Linked DNA regions of Homo sapiens: all the other regions are linked to region 1. Evidence: promoter capture Hi-C in 16 types of primary human blood cells and fetal thymus (Javierre and others, 2016). All regions are on one chromosome and are shown on one strand. The core of a region is centred on a gene start or on the middle of the fragment in contact, and the rest is flanking DNA. Distances in the headings are between cores, read along the strand shown. Region 1 holds the start of NPHS1 (NPHS1 adhesion molecule, nephrin). Region 2 overlaps ATP4A (ATPase H+/K+ transporting subunit alpha). Region 3 holds the start of KRTDAP (keratinocyte differentiation associated protein). Region 4 holds the start of FFAR3 (free fatty acid receptor 3).

Region 1 (3,739 bases), core at 1-2,500:
ACCCATACCCAGGATGGAGAGGATCACTCTGGGAGACACGAGCTCGGGCCCCATCTCAGAGCGGCCGACCTGGCACTCATACTCCGCGTCATCGCTGAGGTCACAGGCCTCGATGTGCAGGTGGAATTCACCTGCAGGGGGAGCCGGAAGTCAGGGCCGCAGCTTCCGCTGGTGGCTGAGGGTCTCAGGCTCTGATCCCTTACCTCTAGCAGGGTCCCCTTCCAGGCGGTACCTCGGGAAGCCTGGGATCCTGGGGTCGGGGCCCAGGAGCAGCCCATCTTTGGCCCATTGCACCGCACTGCCAGGGGTGCTGACCCCACAACGCAGCTCCACTGAGGCCCCCTCCACCACCGTCAGGTTTTCAGGCAGGGCCCAGAAGCCCCGGGGAACGGAGGCAGGAATCGCCAACTGCGCCAGGCCTGAGGACACAGCGCGGTGCAAGGAAAGGGCAGAGGGTTTGTCTAGGGAAGGTAAGTGGGAAATGGGGGCCACTTGGCGCTGGGTACAAGGCTGGGATCCCACTCACCTTCAGTCAGCAGCCCCAGGAGCAGGAGAGAAGCCCTGAGCGTCGTCCCCAGGGCCATCACAGGTCCCCCTACTGTGACCCCCACAGCGCCCGCTGCCAGCCACCTGCGTCTGTCTGGCTTTCTCTGGGTCCCTCTCTGTGTGTCTCTGCCACCTGCTTTTCTTTTTTATCTCTTTCCGTTACTCTCCTCCCTTTCTCGTTTTCCTCTTCCCCTCTTCCCTGTGAGTATCTCTCTCTGTCTTGCTCTCAGTCTCAATCTCTGAGTCTCTTTCTCTGTCTCTTTAAAAAAACTTTTTTTTCTTTTTTCTTTTTTTTTTCTTTTTTTTTTTTTTAGAGACGGGGTCTCACTATGTTGGCCAGGTTGATCTCAGACTCTTTCCTTCAAGCCATCCTCCCACCTTGGCCTCCCCAAGTGTTGGGATTACAGGCGTGAGCCACTGCGCCCAGTCTCTTTATCTTTCCATCTTTCTCTCCTTGTCTAAGCCGTTCTCTCTCCTTTTGTCTCTGTCTCTTCCTCTCTCTCTGTCTCTCTCTCTCTCTCTCTCTCAATCTCTATCTTCTCTCCTGCCACCCCTCACTCCTGCTCCTTGTCTCACTACTCACAGCCTTTCAAGAAGGACCTGCAGCCCAGAGTCCAGCAGGCCAGGAGCCTAGGAGAGCGATGAGGCTGATGCAGGCACTGGCAGAGTCAGCCCTGCTCTCTGACCCAGCTTGAGCTCATTCTCACAGTGCAACCTCCCCCAGGTACCTTCCAGAGCCCCCAGCTCTGGCCTCTGCCCAGCAGGCTCCTCCCAGCTGGCCCAGCTGGAGCATAAAATCCCCTGTCAGCACATGCCAGGCGCGTTCCTCGGTGCCTCCCCAGCCTCCGTGACCCCAGGGCCTGGCTTAGGCTGGGAAGATGGGAGAAGTCAGATCAAGGTGGTCTCCCAGCTCAGCAGGGGAGCAGCCAGCTGGGCCCCCAGCTCTTCCTTGCCCTGATACATGACCTTGGCAAGTCTCTTTCTTTCTTTCTTTCTTTTCTTGAGATAGTCTTGCTCTGTTGCTCAGGCTGGAGTGCAGTGGCATCTCGGCTCACTGCAACTTCCACCTCCCATGGCTTGAACCTCCCAGGTTCAAGTAATTCTCCCACCTCTGTCTCCCAAGTAGCTGGTGCTACAGGTATATAGCACCATGCCTGGCTAATTTTTGTATTTTTACTAGAGACGGGGTTTCATCATGTTGGCCACGCTGGTCTCGAACTCCTGACCTCAGGTGATCCATCTGCCTCAGCCTCCCAAAATGCTGGGATTACAGACATGAGCCACCGCACCTGGCCTCCCTTCCTTTTTTAGTAGACATCAGTGCCTAAATGATGTCAGGGATCTCTGCTGGGGAGGATGCAAGAGTGAGTGTGACAGGCTGGGAGAGTGTGGGAGAGAGGGAAGATATGCATGTGTGTACGTGGGTGTGAGAGTGGGGAAGGTTAGAGTGAACTGCGATCTGTAATAAGCATGTGGAGAGCGTGTGTGTGACAGTGTCTTACGTGGGAGTGCACAGGGTGTGGGCGGGAGTAAAAGGCAGAGTCCAATTCCACCGGCCCCCAGTGTGGGTGCAGTGTGAGCCCAAAGTGGGCGCCCTTTGGCAAGGACTGCATGAGCTTTCTTCTCCCTCTTTTTCTTGCCCTCTCTCCCATCTCTTCTTTCCTTCTCCATGTCTCTCTCTCTCCCTCCCTCTATCTATCTTGATTTATCTTTCTTTCTTTTGAGATGGAATCTTGCTCTGTTGCCCAGGCTGGAGGGCAGTGGCATGATCTTGGTTCATTGCAGCCTCAACTTCCTGGGCTCAGGTGATCCTCCTGCCTCAGCCTCCTGAATAGCTGGGACTACAGGTGCACACCACCACTCCAGCTAATTTTTTAAAATTTGTTTGTAGAGACAGGGTCTTTCTCTATTGCCCAGGCTGGAGTGCAGTGGTGTGATCATGGCTCATTGAAGCCTCAAACCTCCTAGGCTCAAGTGTTCTTTCTGCCTCAGCCTCCTGAGTAGCTGGGACTACAGGCCCGCATCACCACTCTGGCTATTTTTTTTTTTTTTTTTTTTTTTTTGAGAGGGAGTCTTGCTCTGTCACCCAGGCTGGAGTGCAATGGTGCGATGTTGGCTCACTGTAACCTCCGCCTCCCAGGTCCAAGCGATTCTCCTGCCTCAGCCTCCTGAGTAGCTGGGAATACAGGCATTGACCACCACACCCAGCTAATTTTTGTATTTTTAGTAGAGACGGGGTTTCGCCATGTTGGCCAGGCAGGTCTCGAACTCCTGACCTCAGGTAACCCACCTGCCTTGGCCCCCCAAAGTGCTGGGATTACAGGTGGGAGCCGCTGCACCCCGCCACTTGGCTAATTTTTTTTAAATGTTTTTGCAGAGACAGAGTCTTGCTATATTGCCCAGGCTTGTCTGGAACTCCTGGGCTCAAGCAATCCTCCCATCTCGGCCTCCCAAAGTACTAGGATTACAGGCATGAGCCACCGCACCTGGCCCTTGATTTATCTTTCTTTTTTTTCTTTTTTCTCTTTTTTCTTTTTTTGAGATGGAGTTTCACTCTTGTTGCCCAGACTGGAGTGTAATAGTGTGATCTCGGCTCACTGCAACCTCTGCCTCCCGGGTTCAGGCGATTCTCCTGCCTCAGCCTCCCTAGTAGCTGGGATTACAGGCATGCGCCACCACGCCTGGCTAATTTTTTGTATTTTTAGTAAAGACGGGGTTTCTCCATGTTGATCAGGCTGGTCTCGAACTCCTGACCTCAGGTGATCAGCCTGACTCGGCCTCCCAAAGTGCTGGGATTGCAGGCGTGAGTCATTGTGCCCAGCTGATTTATCTTTCTATCTTTCTCCATCTGTTTGAGACTCTCTCGCTCTCTATATTAAGTTGTTAAATCTCAGTCAATCTTTATTTCACTGTGTCTCTCCATCTCTATATGTCTCTGTTATTCTGTTTCTCTGTCTCTGTTCTCACCTCTGTCGCTCCCCTCACCCCACAGTCTGTCTCACACACACCAGGAGCTCCATAAATATTTGTTCTCAGCCACACTCTGACCACGCCTCTTTCTCTTATGTGTCTCTCCATCTCCGAGTGGCTCTGCTCATCACATCCCTGGATTTTATAACCATATGCTGGTGGGCCTGCCCTCCCCGCGTGCACATACACTTGCCTGGGATAAGCTTCTTCTGCCTGCTTATCT
Region 2 (3,727 bases), core at 1,094-3,593, 300 kb before region 1:
TGGAAGGAACTGGGACTGAGGGTTTGGCTGGGCCCTTGTCCCCTCCACTTCGGGTCCCCCTTCCCCCACTTGTGAGCAGGAACAGGACTGAGGTTAGCAGGCAGGACCTGCAGGGACGGCACAGCCACACCAGCCTGGACAGCCTGGGCCCCACTGGCCCCTGGGTGTTGGCATCCTGGTGCCCATCTTCGTAAGAACATCTGCTTTTATCTTCTCCCTCTGTCTCCCTCCCTCTCTTTCTCTGTTCCTCACTCTGTTTCTCTGTCCCTGTCTCCAGTGTAATTCTCTGTGACTGTATCTGCTCTTGTGTATTTCTGTGTCACTCCCTATCTCTGTGTATCTTCAGTCTCTCAGTGTCGCCGTGCCCCTTCATCTGCTTGTGCCTAGAGTGGCAGCAGAGCATACTGACCACGACCACAGGCTGTGGGACCTGTGACTGCTCAAGCTCAAGTCACAGCCGGGCCACTTATTTGCCCAGTGACCTGGGACAATCCACTCTACCTGTCTATGCCTTGATGAGCTCATCAGTAAAGTACGGGTGATAGTAACAAAACTCATCTCATAGTGTGGTTATGAGTACAAAATTAAGGAAATGATGGTGTGTCTGGCCCAGAGAAAGCACTGTGTAAATGTTACCGAATAAATACCTGTCAACACAGCTGCGCCTCTGGCTGCATTCGTGACTGTATCTGTGGTTCTTTTCTGTCTGTCTGCCATGGGGTCTATCTGAGGGGGTTTATTTGTCCGTGTCTGTTTAGGGGCACGTGTCTGTGATTCAAGTTTGGCCAGATACCTGTTCTGTTTCCATCTCTGTCTGAGTATCTGTATCTGAGTCATGTGTGTGCATGGGTCGGCCCGGGCCTACCTGAGTGTCCGCCTGTGTGTGCATGGCTGTATGTCCATTTAGGTCTGTTCACCTGCCTGCCACCCATGTGTCCTGCACTGGCTGTCATTGCACACACAGGTCTTGTCTGTCACTCTGTGCCCAAGAGTGTCTGTGGTGGTCTCTGTCCCTCCTGTCCATCTGCAAGCAAGTGTCTCTGGGCACCCTGTGGATGGGTACCCTGGGCTGTGGACTTACAATGTCAGTGCAGAGTTCGATGAAGAGGATGGTGATGCACCCGAGGGGCAGGGGCACGCTGACGGTGATGTAGATGAGGTAGGGTGTCAGCTCTGGGATGTTCTTGGTCAATGTGTAGGCAATAGACTTCTTCAGGTTGTCGAAGATCAGTCGACCTGTGGGGTAGGGTGGGCACCTCAGCCTCCTCACAGCCCTCTCCCTCCTGTGCCCACACTGCCTGCCCTCCCCCTGGCGTGGCTCGGACCCTGCTCCACGCCTGTCACAATGGAGGCAAAGTTGTCATCCAGCAGGATCATGTCAGCTGCATTTTTGGCAGCATCTGAGCCAGCGATGCCCATGGCTACTCCGATGTCTGCCTTCTTCAGAGCTGGGGAGTCATTCACACCATCCCCCGTGACGGCCACAATCGCACCCTGCAGGCAGTGGGTGCAGGTGGTGGGTGGGTGGTCAGTGAGAGGCCGGTCCAAGACCAGCCCCGCCTGTCTGCCCGCCTGCCCACCCTCATCAGCAGGGCTCACCAGCCGCTGGCAGCTCTCCACGATCACCAGCTTCTGCTGGGGGCTGGTGCGCGCAAACACCATCTCGGGGTGGGTGCGCAGGGCCTCGACCAGTTCCGATGGGTCCATGTCCTTCAGCTGCATGCCATTGATCACACAGGCACGGGCATCCCTGGGGAGGAGATGGGAGGACCTCGCTGGGACCTCGGTCTGTGCCAGATGTGGGGAGAACCCCGGGGAGGTCTGGGGGGGCTTACTTGCGATTAACCTGGTCTACGGGCACACGGAGGCGGGCAGCGATGTCCTCCACTGTCTCGCTGCCTTCCGAGATGATGCCCACACTGGCTGCAATGGCCTTGGCGGTGATGGGGTGGTCACCCGTTACCATGATCACCTGTAGGGGGAACCAGTGGATCACTGACCCCTTCAGATCAGCCCAATCTCCCTGTCCTCCCTGGGAGACATCTGCTGATACACGTGTTCATTTACTTGACCAAGCGTGACCACCTCCTACGTGCCTGGGATATAGCAGAGACAAAAGAGACAAAAATCCCTGTCCTTGAGGAGCTCTAGTGAGGGTGACAGAAAATAAAGAAACGAATTATATAGTGTGTTAGAAAGTGGAAAAAAACATATTAAGCTTGGTGAAGGAAACGGTGACTCGATTTTAAGTGTACCCAGGGAAGGGCTTATTGAGAAGGTGATATCTGAGCAGAGACCTGTAAGAGGTGAGAGAGTCAGCCACGTGGAAAGCTGGGAGAAGAGTGCTCCTGGCAGGGAGAACAGCAGGTGCAAAGGCCCTGAGGTGAGGACAGGCCCGAACTGTCGGAGGAACAGCAGGGAGGACACCATAACTGCAGAGGAGTGAACAAGGAAAGAGGGCTAACGAACAAGCTTAGAAAGGTAACAAGGCCCGATGTAACAGGGCCGTAGAGACACGGGAAGGGCTTGGGCATTGCCTGCCTGGCCTTGGCTTTCCCACCCTTGTTTTGTGTTTGGGGAACCACTCCTCTCCCCTACACCATCAGTTGCAGTGAGGTCCCTGGCTAAGATTGGGTAAGTAAGCCCAGACCTGGCCAATCAAGGTCTTCCATCCCCCAGCCCCAGTGACTGGCTCAGGGATAAATGAGTGACCCAATCCAGTGCTACTGCAAAAGAGGCACTCTCTTTTTGTGGGGTGGCTAAGCAGGTGGGAGTTAAGTTTGAGCTGCTGGAGCAGGGGTGTGTGTGTCCCCAAGTGAAGGGAGTGCCTGCAAATAAAGCCAGCAAAGAGAACAGCAGAGCTGAGACATGGAGAAAGGAAAATTCCTAATGACACTGAGCTCCTGGATCTGGCTAGACCTGAAGCTTAATTCCCCAGAATTTTTCAGTATCATAAACCAATGCATTTTGGTTCAAGCCAGTTTCAGGTGGGTTTGTCATGGGGTTCTTCAACCCAAATCCTGCTGCCATCCTCTGTCCTCACTCCACTTGTTCCTCCCCACAGTGGCATACCCGGATGCCTGCGGTGCGACACTTGAGCACAGCATCAGGGACGGTGGCCCGGGGTGGGTCAATCATGGATACAAGTCCCGCAAAGCAGAGGCCGCTAGATGGAAAGTTCATGGCCTCTACGTCGAAGGCATAGCCAGGCGGGTAGTCCTTCTCATTCAGGTAGAGCTGGCAGAAGCCTGACCGGAAACGGGGAAGTCAGGGAAGAGCCCTGGGCACACCCTTTCTTAGCAGGGCCAGGAAATGGGTAAAATAACCAGGCCCCTTGCACCAAACACCTATGGATGCCTGACCTTGTGCTGACCCCTTCACTCACATTATCTGAATCTACCCTCACAACCACCCTGTGAGGCCCATTCTCATCTTACAGATGAGGAAACTGAGGCTCAGAGAGGGGACATTTCTTGCCAGAGGTCACACAGCAAGTAAAAGGCCCAGAATTGGACCACAGATCTGCTTTCTAGGGTAGAGGCAGCGAAGTTTAAGGCGTCAGGACAAAAATTGGGAGAGGTTAGAGGTCAGGATACGGATAAAAGTCCAGGTGAGGACTGGGGTCAAGGTAGAAAGTGAGGACAGACAGGGGTCAGGACTGGTACAGGGAAAGTCAAGGGTGAGGCTGTGGACTGCGACAAATCAGCCAGCAGCCAGGGATGAGGAC
Region 3 (3,756 bases), core at 1,098-3,597, 360 kb before region 1:
GTGGGTGCCCAGTATAGGATGGCATGGATGGAAAGGAATTTCTGCCTCGGTGTGAGTTCCCGTTCTCCTCTATATGTAGTAGCTAAGACCTCCCTTCAGTTTGGTGAGAAGGCTGATCCTCCTTTCCCTGTCCCCACTCTCTCTCCCATATCTTCTGCTTCTTCCCTTACCCCCAAGCTCCATACCCTCCTAATGCCCACACCTCTTACCTTAGGAAAGGCATCCCAGTTGAGGAAAGGAAGTTTCCTTTTGATAGACTAAAAGAAAGAAAGAGAAAGAGAGTGATGTGTTGCAGGTCAGCCGGGCATGGATGGGTAAGCATTCCCTTAATGAACTCCCACAGTAACCATAGTAACAATAATGTCATTATTTTGTCATTACTTTATCAAGAGCTAATATTTCCTGAGGCCTTAGTCTGTGTCTGCCTTGCACGGGCTGCTCTACAAGCATGATTTCAGTGGGTTTTTACAGCAACCTTTTGTGGTGGGAATTGTCATCATCCCCACATCACAGAGGAAGCGGAGGCCGAGGGAGCTGAAGGCGTTCGCATGAGGCCATGTGAGAAGTCAGTGCAGAGTCAGGAGACGCGGGCCCCAGCTCTGTCGCTGACTTTGCCTTCTAAGTGCGGGTGGGCCTCAGTTTTTCCATAGAGGATGAGGGGATTCAAATAAAATCTTGACCGATTAGCCTCTTCCTCTTCTGCAATTGTCCTTGGGGCCCTGCTCCTCCACCACCATCTTAGGAAAACACGGGTAGCCAGGACTGGCGCCGGGGGAAGCTTTCTTCCGTTGACAGCCCATTGGGCAGCATCCAGGCAGGACAGTCACTCCCTCCCAGAGATCAGGAACCAACCCATACATTTAAAGCCAAAATGTGTGGCCACTACCCTGGGATGACTGCAGACAACCGAGGAGGGCAAGGGGCGCCGGAGCACTCACCTCAAAGAGGGCGTGCCAGTTCAGGAACTCATCAGCCTTAAACGCCTGAGGAGGAAGAGAGACAGCAGAAGCAGGTCAGCTCCAGGGGAGGCCAGAGCTTAGCCCCCAGCCCTCTGGAGAAGGTGAAGGAACCGTGGCAGCTTTGCAAGCTCTCTACCAAGGCGTTTATCCCCTCTGTGATGAGGGTATTCGTGGGGGTAGCACCAGAGAAGCGTACTCACAGATCGCAATTTGTCGATGTTCAGGAACGGGGTGTTAAAGGCCTAGGCAGAAACGCAGGGTGTTAGGAAAGTTGCTAAGAAGCAAAAAGAGAGAGAGGACAGACTCGTGGCTGGAGGGCCGGGGAAAACAGACGGCTTACCTCGGGTCGTGACGCATAATTCTCAATGGTGCTTTCTTCCTGGAAAAGGAGAGGGAGAAAAGGCGGCAGGGGGTCACGTGATGCCAGGGCCCTTGCCCACATCCCTGTCTGCCAGCTCTGCCTTCATCCACAGCCCAGTCCCCGAAAGAACGCAACCCATTCCCCACCATGGTCTCCGTTCCAGTCGCGCACATGGTTGGCGGATGTGCAGGGTGAGGAGGGGGAATTGGAGAATGGTACATGTAAGCAGTGTCACCATGGGCAGCAGGCAGAAAGCCTGGAGCCGAGCATTCCTCTCCGGAAAAGCTAGCTAGTGCTGTCCTGCAGTTGACTTAAGTCTAAGAGGTGGGGTGTTCTGGAGACACCCACGCTCAGTCCGTATAGCTGGATGGGAAAGATTTGCGAGCAGGTGGGAGCCCAGCTGCTGAGGTGACCCGCCTGCCTCTCACTGATCGAGGTTGCTTTGCTTTGTGGATTTATTGCCACCACTGTTGGAGGTTCCATAATCCCCCTCCATGGGGACCCCACCCCAGGCCTCAGTGTGTCCCATCGTGTCTTCCCCATGACAGAGCCCAACACGGAGCCCGCAGGCTGGATCCAGATGCTTAGATCTCATAAAAATTTGGTCATTTGTTTTTTGGTTTGAATTAGACATTTTGAATTAGTAAGAATTCATAAATTCATCCAGATTTCTAGTTTCCCCTGAAAAATGTAAAACTCTAGGCACATCTTCCCAATCCATGGCGTCAGGTGGGGTGAAAGCTGCCCTTTCAGACTGGGAAAGTTGGCCCCATTTCACCTCAGGCCCTGACAGCCCCCCCAGCTCAGTGACACCACTGGCTTGGTCCTTAGCAGCTGAGCCTGTGCCCCTGTCTTAGACTTTTAAATCCGGAATAGGCATCAGGATTCCTCTCTGGCTGAGGACTGGATGGTAAAGATTCTCACTGTGGCCTATGCTCCAGAGACAGCAGGGAGCCACCCGTCACCTGGGCACCACTCCCAGGGGCACAAATGAAGCAAAGAGGAGCTAAGCAGGGGTGTCTCCAGAACACCCCAGCCCCACTCCTCTTTGAGTTAAGTCAGCTGCAGGCAGAACTAGCTAGTTTTTTGCTTTGCTTCACCCTCTCCACCTGCTGCCCATGTGGATGCAGGCCTGGGTTTGGAGCTGCTCTGCCTCACATTGCCGTTCTCCAGTTCCCCCTCTTCCCCTGCACGTCCCCAGGCATGTGTGCAGCTGGAACGGAATGGGTGAACACTCTTGAGAGCCCATGGTGGAGATAGTCTGAACCCAGACCACCCACTCAGTCCCAAGGTTCAGTACACGAGCCTCCCCAACACACTTCACCATCCCTTCCAGAAAGAGGAGCATCTCTGTCCCAAATGTCTCCCCAGGGATGCTCTGTTCCCTCCTCCCTTCCTCAGAGCCCCAGTTTCTTCAGCCCCCATCAGAATCCAAAACTAAGAGCCACTTATCCAGGAATGGACAGGAGGTAGAGAGATGGAGGGGTAGGTGGGTAACACGTATAAGAATAAAAATGCAGGTGACGTGCTCACCTCAGGACCACCCAGGGTGGCTCCCTGGGCAGAGTGGAGCACCAGGAGGGAGAGGAGCACCACGGCAGGAAGGACCGGGATCTTCATGGCGTCAAGTTTGGGGTGCTCTGAGGCGGGGCCTCAGTGCTTGCTCTTTATATTGCCAAGGAGGCAGATGAGCACAGAAATGGGGTCCCCACCCCACTGACTCACCCCCAGATCTTGTCGCCCACCCCCGGGGCTCTGGGAGGGGGAGGCATGGACTGTTCCTCATTTGCCTCGGATTTCTCAATTCGCATTCTGCCCCAGGCACGTGGAAGGTAACACTGCAATGGGTCTCTTCATGCAGATGGGGCTGGGACAGAGACAGGTTGGACCTGTCCCTCCAAGGGATTGGCAGTGGTACCCAAGCAACCTCTCCTTTTGTCTTTGTCTCTTTTCGTTATATCCCTCATTCCTCTCTTAGAATTCAGGCTTTTTCTTTTCTTTTCTTTTCTTTTTTTTTGACAGGCTCTCACTCGTTGCCCAGACTGGAGTGCAGTGGTGTGATCACAGCTCACTGCAGCCTTGACCTCCCAGGCTCAAGCAATCCTCCCACCTCAGTCTCCCTAGTAGCTGGGACTAGAGGCACGCATCACCTCACCTAGCTAACTTTTTTATTTTCTTGTAGAGATGTTGCAGCTTTTTTTTTTTTTAATTTTCTCGTAGAGATGAAAATGTCTCGCCATGTTGCCCAAGCTGGCCTCAAACTCCTGGACTCAAGGGGTCCGCCTGCCTTGACCTCCCAAAGGACTATAGGTGTGAGCCTGCGCTCCATGCTCATTCAGGCCTTTTCTTCCACCCTACCAAAATCTATGTAAACTCTTTAGCTTGGCATTGAAGGTGGTCCATGCTCTGAACTCAACCCACCTTTATAACTTCTTC
Region 4 (3,813 bases), core at 426-2,925, 490 kb before region 1:
AGGTGTGAGTCCATTACCATCAGCTAGTTTTAGAACATTTTCATGACCCTAGTAAAGGATTTTACTTCATGTTCATTTAAACTTAATCTTGGGCCAGGCGGGGTGGCTCACGCCTATAATCTCAGCATTTTGGGAGGCTGGGGTGGACGGATCACCTGAGGTCAGTAGTTCGAGACCAGCCTGGCCAACATGGCGAAACCTCATCTCTACTAAACATACAAAAATTAGCCAGGCGTGGTGGCGGGCACCTGTAATCCTAGCTACTTAGGAAGCTGAGGCATGAGAATTTCTTGAACCCGGGAGGCAGAGTTTGCAGTGAGCCAAGATTGCACCATTGCACTCCAGCCTGGGCGACAACAAGACCCTGTCTCAAAAAAAAAAAAAAAAAAAAAAAAACAACTTAATCTTCATTTCTACCTCCATCCCCCAGACAACCACGAGTCTACTTTCTGACTCTATAACTTTGCCTATTCTGGACATATCATATAAATAAATGAAATCTGACAATATATGTACATGGTCTTTTACGTCTGGCTTGTTTCACTCAACATAAGGCTGTAGTGTGTATGGGTAGCTCATTCCTTTTCTTTGCCAAATAGAATTCCAGTATATGGATGTGCCACTTTTTTATTCACTCACCAGCTGATGGGCTGCCAGGTAACATTTCCACTGTTGGTGACTATGACCAACACTGCTGTGAACATTTAGGACTGAGTCTTTAAGTAGACCTGAGTTTCCACTTCTCTTAAGTAAATACCTACGGTGGAATTGTTGGATCGCATGGTGAATTTATGTTTAACTTTTTAAGCAACTGCCACCTGCTTTCCAAAGCAGGGACACCACCTCCCATTATTCTCACCAGCAGTGAATGAGGCCCCTATCTCTCTACATTCTCGCCGACCATAGGCATTGTCTGACTTTTTGCTTGTGGCCATTCTAGTGGATGTGAAATCATATCTCATTGTGCCCTGTGATTGTTTGAATGAACTAATAGATCACCTGTGAAACTGGACAGCACTTGGGTTTGAACCCTAGTGGTGACATTTCACAAGCTGTATCACCTGGAGCAAGTCACTTCCCTACGGTGAAGGACAAGGATTTTATGACATAAAAGCGTTGCCCTAGAAGCAGTGTCTGCTATGGATTATGTGCCCATGAAAAGGCAGCTGCTGTCATCATCGCCACCACCATTATTATTGTTATTATTATTACATTGTCACCCCAGAGATAATCCTGCACCAGTGACAGGGAAAATAGCAGCTGGCATCCGCTGCCTGCTCACGACCACACGCCAGGCTTCCGTCAAACCACTCAACATGTATTAGTAATCTTTTAATCGACCTACATATTGTTTTAATTTGCATGTGTTAATGCGTTGATCTATGAGATGGGTATTATGATGAGCTCTGTTCTGCAGGGGAGAAAGCAGAAACATGGAGAATTTAAGTCATTTCCCCCAAATCACAAAGTCAGGAAGAAACAGACCTCACGGAGCTCGCTCTCTGTCATTGCATCACACTTCCTGCCCTTACAAGGCAAATTGGATAAATGCCATTCTAGAGAAGCAGACAAAATTCAAGTGAAGAAGGGGAGAGGAAGACGTCGGCTGGGGCCTGCTTAGAGCATCCCAGCTGAGACTGCATGAGGAGGGAGGCACGCAGTTGTGGAATTTGTTCCCCTTTTAGCATGCTGACCAGCCCTGGCAACGGAGCTCAAGGCATCTATGTGCCACTGCTCAACAGTGAGTGACGTCATGGGCACGGCCAGGTCTTTATCAGTTCTGCCGGATAAATAGCCAACTGCACTAGGTCTGGAGAGACAGCAAGGTGCTGTGCGGCAGAGCATTTGGGGTCTCAAAGAAGCAGGTGAGCCTGGGCCCGAGGGGCTGGGTGGAGGAGCACCTTGGTGCTTCTCTGCTGGGGAAGGGACAGGGGACAGGGCATGCTCAGGAAGACAGGCAGGCTGACCCCGCCTGGAAGGCACCCAGAGACAAGAGGGGTGGGCGTAGTGACCTCGTGCCCTTTTAGGGGAGATGCTGCTGGCCAGAGGCCGTTAGGGCCCCCACTACCAACTCCATGTTACTCTCTCTCACCAGTGGCCACCACCATGGATACAGGCCCCGACCAGTCCTACTTCTCCGGCAATCACTGGTTCGTCTTCTCGGTGTACCTTCTCACTTTCCTGGTGGGGCTCCCCCTCAACCTGCTGGCCCTGGTGGTCTTCGTGGGCAAGCTGCAGCGCCGCCCGGTGGCCGTGGACGTGCTCCTGCTCAACCTGACCGCCTCGGACCTGCTCCTGCTGCTGTTCCTGCCTTTCCGCATGGTGGAGGCAGCCAATGGCATGCACTGGCCCCTGCCCTTCATCCTCTGCCCACTCTCTGGATTCATCTTCTTCACCACCATCTATCTCACCGCCCTCTTCCTGGCAGCTGTGAGCATTGAACGCTTCCTGAGTGTGGCCCACCCACTGTGGTACAAGACCCGGCCGAGGCTGGGGCAGGCAGGTCTGGTGAGTGTGGCCTGCTGGCTGTTGGCCTCTGCTCACTGCAGCGTGGTCTACGTCATAGAATTCTCAGGGGACATCTCCCACAGCCAGGGCACCAATGGGACCTGCTACCTGGAGTTCCGGAAGGACCAGCTAGCCATCCTCCTGCCCGTGCGGCTGGAGATGGCTGTGGTCCTCTTTGTGGTCCCGCTGATCATCACCAGCTACTGCTACAGCCGCCTGGTGTGGATCCTCGGCAGAGGGGGCAGCCACCGCCGGCAGAGGAGGGTGGCGGGGCTGTTGGCGGCCACGCTGCTCAACTTCCTTGTCTGCTTTGGGCCCTACAACGTGTCCCATGTCGTGGGCTATATCTGCGGTGAAAGCCCGGCGTGGAGGATCTACGTGACGCTTCTCAGCACCCTGAACTCCTGTGTCGACCCCTTTGTCTACTACTTCTCCTCCTCCGGGTTCCAAGCCGACTTTCATGAGCTGCTGAGGAGGTTGTGTGGGCTCTGGGGCCAGTGGCAGCAGGAGAGCAGCATGGAGCTGAAGGAGCAGAAGGGAGGGGAGGAGCAGAGAGCGGACCGACCAGCTGAAAGAAAGACCAGTGAACACTCACAGGGCTGTGGAACTGGTGGCCAGGTGGCCTGTGCTGAAAGCTAGGTCCTCCGGGGGAGGAGGGTGTAGCTGGCATGTCATCCTCAGGGCGCTTCCTCGCTCACGCCAGGAGGGACTTGGAGTGGCGAGCTGGGGCCCGATGGGGCTTGGGGGCAGAGTAGACATCTAGCCTCCCTAAGGGTATGCGCGCTAAAGCCCAGCTCTCGATCTCACCTCCATCCCCATCCACCCACACACTATGGATTGGGCTCTGGGAAGGGGTCAGGGTGAGAGGCTGCTCTGGAGAACAATGAGGTCCTCATAGCAGCAGGCAGCTCCTGTGTTTTCTTGAGGGTGGCAGAGGAGCTAAGAGCAGTGCCCAGGGTCTGAGGGGGCTGCCCAGTGAGTGGCAGGGGCAGGAGAGGGGAGAACCCCATCCTCAGAGCTGCTCCCAGCCAGCGAGTCAGGAGCGGGGGAGACAGGGCTCCAGGGATGAGGCCGCATTCTGCTCCCACAGCGCCTTTTCCAGAAAGTTCCCATTGCTCAATAAATGTGGATCATCAGAGACATTTATGAACAATGACAGAAGAAAAATTACCCAAATAAATGTGGAAGCAAGCAAAAGAGAACAGTGTTTCCTTCTTCTCCTGTTTTGTTCTGGTGGTGTGCTTGGGCCGGGTGGGACTGGTGGATGGAAGGAGAAAACACCAGACTCTGGAGGAAAAGGGCCAA

What was found. Contacts are between HindIII fragments. The CHiCAGO score rates a contact against its expected background, and 5 or more counts as called.
Region 2: a fragment that was not itself captured here is called in contact with the fragment with the promoter of NPHS1 in region 1 in 5 of 17 cell types (M0 macrophages, M1 macrophages, M2 macrophages and 2 more); the score reaches 10.0 in M0 macrophages.
Region 3: a contact is called between a fragment that was not itself captured here and the fragment with the promoter of NPHS1 in region 1, in 4 of 17 cell types (M0 macrophages, M2 macrophages, erythroblasts and 1 more). The highest score is 7.1, in M0 macrophages.
Region 4: the fragment with the promoter of FFAR3 here is called in contact with the fragment with the promoter of NPHS1 in region 1 in 10 of 17 cell types (neutrophils, total B cells, fetal thymus and 7 more); the score reaches 11.7 in neutrophils.

What each region holds. Positions count from the first base shown.
Region 1 is chr19:35,851,254-35,854,992 of GRCh38, forward strand. NPHS1 (NPHS1 adhesion molecule, nephrin) reads right to left here and starts at 1,251. Exons shown (of 29, transcript NM_004646.4): 1 at 527-1,251; 2 at 204-419; 3 at 9-131. The coding sequence starts at 584. It also overlaps a transcript of KIRREL2 not described here. RefSeq lists enhancers at 1-537, 538-1,179. The HindIII fragment of the contact is 3,857 bases long and covers 1-3,717 here.
Region 2 is chr19:35,553,841-35,557,567 of GRCh38, forward strand. ATP4A (ATPase H+/K+ transporting subunit alpha) reads right to left here. Exons shown (of 22, transcript NM_000704.3): 12 at 3,073-3,248; 13 at 1,836-1,972; 14 at 1,600-1,750; 15 at 1,326-1,494; 16 at 1,082-1,236. Among named protein-coding and RNA genes, the nearest start is that of ATP4A, 8.0 kb to the right of the region's middle. The HindIII fragment of the contact is 254 bases long and covers 2,217-2,470 here.
Region 3 is chr19:35,487,503-35,491,258 of GRCh38, forward strand. KRTDAP (keratinocyte differentiation associated protein) reads right to left here and starts at 2,962. Exons shown (of 6, transcript NM_207392.3): 1 at 2,854-2,962; 2 at 1,300-1,338; 3 at 1,160-1,201; 4 at 939-983; 5 at 210-257. The coding sequence starts at 2,940. The HindIII fragment of the contact is 3,143 bases long and covers 777-3,756 here.
Region 4 is chr19:35,356,785-35,360,597 of GRCh38, forward strand. It overlaps FFAR3 (free fatty acid receptor 3), which reads left to right and starts at 1,676. Exons shown (of 2, transcript NM_005304.5): 1 at 1,676-1,865; 2 at 2,096-3,705. The coding sequence starts at 2,107. The coding sequence ends at 3,147. RefSeq lists an enhancer at 2,997-3,524. The HindIII fragment of the contact is 8,969 bases long and covers 1-3,813 here.